Linked DNA regions of Homo sapiens: region 1 is linked to region 2. The links are contacts of gene promoters, found by promoter capture Hi-C in human tissues and cell types (Jung and others, 2019). All regions are on one chromosome and are shown on one strand. The core of a region is centred on a gene start or on the middle of the fragment in contact, and the rest is flanking DNA. Distances in the headings are between cores, read along the strand shown.

What was found. Contacts are between HindIII fragments. The study calls those that stand out against the background at their distance.
Region 1: a fragment that was not itself captured here is called in contact with the fragment with the promoter of SULT1E1 in region 2 in 1 of the 25 tissues and cell types used here (dorsolateral prefrontal cortex).

Annotation. Positions count from the first base shown.
Region 1 is chr4:68,620,814-68,623,513 of GRCh38, reverse strand. No RefSeq gene overlaps it. Among named protein-coding and RNA genes, the nearest start is that of UGT2B17, 46 kb to the right of the region's middle. The HindIII fragment of the contact is 5,524 bases long and covers 1-2,700 here.
Region 2 is chr4:69,858,771-69,861,470 of GRCh38, reverse strand. SULT1E1 (sulfotransferase family 1E member 1) reads left to right here and starts at 1,326. Exons shown (of 8, transcript NM_005420.3): 1 at 1,326-1,422. The HindIII fragment of the contact is 19,346 bases long and covers 1-2,700 here.

The DNA.
Region 1 (2,700 bases), core at 125-2,624, 1.2 Mb after region 2:
ACCCTCAAGTAGACCCCAGTGTCTGTTGTCTCTTTGCATCCATGTGTTCTCATCAGTTAGCTCCTCCTCATAAGTGAGTACATGCAGCATTTGGTTTTCTGTTCCTGTGTTAGTTTGCTAAGGATGATGGTCTCCAGCTCCATCCATGTGCCTGCAAAGTACATGATCTCAGTCTTTTTTATGGCTGCATAGTATTCCATGGTGTATATGTACCATATATTCTTTATCCAGTCTACCACTGATGGGCATTTAGGTGATTCCATATCTTTCCTATTGTGAACAGTGCTGCAATGAACATAAATGTACATGTGTCTTTATGGTAGAATGATACATATTCCTTTGGGCATATATCCAGTAATAGGACTGCTGGGTCAAATGGTAGTTCTGCTTTTAGCTTTTTGAGTAATCACCACACCTCTTTCCACAATGGTTGAACTAATTTATACTTCCACCAACAGTGTATAAATGTTCCCTTTGCTCTGCAACCTCACCAGTATCTGCTATTTTTTGACTAATTATAGCCACTCTTACTTGTGTGAAATAGTATCTCACTGTGGTTTTGATTTGCATTTATCTAATGATCAGTGGTATCTCACTGTGGTTACAATTTGCATTTCCCTAATGATCAGTGATATTGACCTTTTTGTTCATATGCTTGTTGGCTGCTTGTATATCTTCCTTTGTAACGTGTCTATAGTGATGAACCAAGATGGCTGAACAGGAACGGCTCTGGTCTGCAGCTCCCAGCATGATCAATGCAGAAGATGGGTGATTTCTGCATTTTCAACTGAGGTACCTGGTTCATCTCACTGGGACTGGTTGGACAGTGGGTGCAGCCCACGGAAGGCAGGCTGAAGCTGGGCGGGGCATCGCCTCACCCCGGAGGTGCAAGGGGTTGGGGGATTTCCCTTTCCTAGCCAGGGGAAGCCATGACAGACTCTACCAGGAAAATCAGGACACTCCCACCTTAATACTGCACTTTTCCAATGGTCTCAGCAAATGACACACCCAGGAGATTACATCCCATGCCTGGCTCAGTGGGTCCCATGCCCATGGAGCCTTGCTCACTGCTAGCACAGCAGTCCAAGATCCAACTGCAAGGAGGCAGACTGGCTGGGGGAGGGGCATTCGCCATTGCTGAGGCTTGAGTAGGTAAACAAAGCAGCCAGGACGCTTGAACTGGGTGGAGCCCACCACAGCTCAAGGAGGCCTGCCTACCTCTGTAGACTCCACCTTTGCTGGCAGGGCATAGCTGAACAAAAGGCAGCAGAAGCTTCTGCAGACTTAAACATCCCTGTCTGACAGCTCTGAAGAGAGCAGTGGTTCTCCCACCATGGTGTTTGAGCTCTGAAATGGACAGACTGCCTCCTCAAGTGGGTCTCTGGCCCCTGGGTAGCCTAACTGGGAGACACTTCTGAGTAGGGGCCAACTGACACCTCATGCAGCCAGGTGCCCCTCTGAGATGAAGCTTCCAGAGGAAGGATCAGGCAGCAATGTTTGCTGTTCTACAATACTTGCTGTTGATCTTTTCAAAAAACCAGCTCCTGGATTCATTGATTTTTTTGAAGGGTTTTTTTGTGTGTCTCTATCTCCTTCAGTTCTGTTCTAATCTTAGGTATTGCTTGCCTTCTGCTAGCTTTTGAATGTGTTTACTCTTGCTTCTCTAGTTCTTTTAATTGTGATGTTAGGGTGTTGATTTTAGATTTTTCTTGCTTTCTTTTGTGGGCATTTAGTACTATAAATTTCCTTCTACACACTGCTTTAAAGGTGTCCCAGAGATTATGGTATATTGTGTCTTTGTTCTCATTGGTGTCAAAGAACATCTTTACTTCTGCCTGCATTTTGTTATTTACACAGTAGTCATGCAGGAGCAGGTTGTTGAGTTTCCATGTAGTTGTGTGGTTTTGAGTGAGTTTCTTAATCCTGAGTTCTAATTTCAGTGTACTGTGGTCTGAGAGACAGTTTGTTGTTATTTCTGTTCTTTTACATTTGTTGTGGAGGGCTTTACTTCCAACTATGTGGTCAGTTTTGGAACAAGTGTGATGTGGTTCCAAGAAGAATGCATATTCTGTTGACTTTTGGGTGGAGAGTTCTGTAGATGTCTATTAGGTCTGCTCGTTGCAGAGCTGAGTTCAAGTCCTGGATATCCTTGTTAACCTTCTGTTTCATGGATGTGTCTAATATTGACAGTGGGGTGTTAAAGTCTCCCTTTACTATCGTGTGGGAGCCTAAGTCTCTTTGTAGGTCTCCAAGGACTTGCCTTATGAATCTGGGTGCTCCTGTATTCAGTGCATATATATTTAGAATAGTTATCTCTTCTTGTTGAATTGATCCCTTTATCATTATGTAATGGCTTTCTTTGTCTCCTGATCTTTGTTGATTTAAAGTCTGTTTTATCAGAGACTAGGATTACAACCCCTGCTTTTTTTTGTTTTCCGTTTGGTTGTTAGATCTTCCTCCAACCCTTTATTTGAGCCTATGTGTGTCTCTGCACGTGAGATGGGTCTCCTGAATATAGCACACTGATGGGTCTGGACTCTATTCAATTTGCCGGTCTTTGTCTTTTAACTGGGGCATTTAGCCAATTTACCTTTAAGGTTAATATTGTTATGTGTGAATTTGATCCTGTCATTGTGATGTTAGCTGGTTATTTTGCCTGTTAGTTGATGCAGTTTCTTCCTAACATCAATGGTCTTTACA
Region 2 (2,700 bases), core at 77-2,576:
AACTCAAATAATATGACAGACTGCATAAAACAAAGTAAAATGAAAATCTAAATTTGGGTCCCTGGTTACTCCTTTTCTACCTTAATTTTCTATTATGAAAAGCCCCATTTTTCAGAAACCACTTAACACCTCTTATTTTGCATAAGGCTAGATATTGCTTTCTATAACAACTATAGCCCCCTTAACTTCTTATATTTCTTGAATAAATCAGCCACTTTTATTCAGTAAATACATATTCAATGCCTAGCCTACTAGATGCCAGAAAAAAATGCTAATTACAGAGTAAGACCCTGTTTTCAAGCTATTTATAATTTAAAAAGTACTCTGGACAAGCAAACATTGATTTACAACACAGTAAAATAAATACTAGTTAGGAGAAAGTTCAAAGTTTAAAAGTCACTAAGAGAAACATAGAGTCTTGTAAGAGTGAGCCTCTCAAAGGAAATGTAATCTAACAGTAATTAATAGAGAAATAAGAAATAACAGGGTTGGAGGTGTTGATGGGGTGGAGCAAAGGATAATTTTCTTAAGTGACAGAGTAGGTGCAGAAAAATGAAAAGAAAGGTAATGCATTTGTGGATTCCACAAACCCTTGGCCATTTATTTTTCTAATTCTCTTGTGTAAATTCCAAGTGTTGGTAGCTATCATTACCTGAAAAATTCACAGTATGCTATTTTGTGGTTGGGAGCAGAGAGAAGTCAGGTTTCTAAAATAATAATCGAAAGGTGAGTGATGTTTACATTCTTTCTTTAGCTGTCATCTGCTTTTTAAAATTTTCAGGTCTGCTTAAGAGTTAAAGGCAAAGAGTTTAAATAGGTGTTTTCCAATTGACATGTTAAGATACAACCCAATGACTTCTTTGGCAGGTCTTAATAAACTGAGCTAGGTCTGATTGAGGGTCCTTGCTGTCTTATTTCTTTCCTCATTGGCTTCTCTTTCTTCACTCCAATAAGTTTATTCTTTTGAAAGTTAACCATAGTCATGCTATTATTTGTCAATGAGTGAATAAGGGATTCTCCCTTCCCAGTCTCTCTTCCCAGGCCTCTTCTTTCTCATCTTTTCCTTTTCTCCCTCCTTCTTCCCCAACCCCTGACGGCAGACTTGGGAATTTGAATATGAGCCAAATAATTAAAAAAATAACAGCAGGATATTTCTACATCTCCATGAATGAACATGACTCTGTGTGGTTACTGCAGCTGCAGGTATGCATTTACATCTACATTAACTATTGCATCATGGACTTCATGAAGCCAAGCCCCCAAATTAATCTCCACCTCCTTCTCTGGCATTCAGGATATAAACTCACCAGAAACATTCCAAATGCAGAAGTGGTTCTCATCTTTTTTTGCAGCTTAAGATCTGCCTTGGTATTTGAAGAGATATAAACTAGATCAATTTCTTTCACAGGATCAACTAAACAGGTTGTACTTTTTTATTATTAATATCAATACTTAGATTTTAGATATATAAAATATAGAATGAAAATTATGTATTACAAAGCTCTTAAAAATAAAATATACAAAGACCAAAGTCTTGATTGATACTTTAGTTAATTAATGATGTGAAGCATTTAAAACCTTTTAAAATAATTTGTTGTTAAAAATAATATTTTACATTTATGTAGTATTTTGTTGCTTATTGCTTTAATGTAAAATTACAGTACCATTGCTATCTTAAAAGTGCTGAATGCTGGACGTGTTCTCCATTTTACCAATGAGAAAATAAAGCAAGCAGGGTAGAAGGAGGTAGAATAGAGATTGACTTTTAGTTTTGTGTTCCTGTGATAAGGGGTCTTGCAAATAGGGGCATTACTTTCATGTAAGAAACTTCAGATAAATATGACAGAAATCCAAAGTCCTTGGTAAATAATTAATATGTAGGTCATTGACATATATTGCCTTTTAAATCTGTGAATCCTTACTTAGTAGAAACTAGAGAGCTTCTTGATCTAATAATTGAACTTAACAAATATTTCTGAACATCTACTTTGTGTCATAGTGCTGGAGATTGGGATAGAAACATGTACAAAAGTCACTTTGCCCTCATACAGGTAAATCTAAGAAAGTAGGGACTATGAGAACCCTATGTATCTATATCCACCATAGTATTCTAGCACTGACTACAGGGCCTAGGAAAAGGGTAGGCATTCACATAGGGAGTATTTGCTGGATAAAAGGCAGGTTGGAAGATGCAGGAGGGGAGTATGCAGAAAGAAAGGAAGAAAGAGAGGAAGGAGAGCGGGAAGGAAAAACACTTTCTGAGTTTAATTGAATTTATAAGTCACAATTTTAACAACTTTTTTGATGTTTATTTCTGAACAACTGACCTACATACTCAGAATAAAAAATTGACAATTTCTAACTGAAATAGATCTTTTGAGAAAATGGGGATCACATAGGAAGTAAATCCATACATTGTAATATGAGACAATTTACCAAAAGGAATAGAATGAGAAAAGATATTTTATTACATGCCACCTACTTTGCCTCTCAGACCAAAATTGACTATGAAGGAGTAGCTGGAAGTCAGCCAACCACTTAATGATAAATCTACCACTCCCAGCTGACTATAAGCCAATTCTTATAAACTTGGCTGAACACCAAGAAAGTAATTCACATGAGTAAGCAAACCAATAGGCAGGACAAATCGTGGTGCATTTTATACACATTTCTTCTAGTGAAAGATCTATTTTCTGAGAC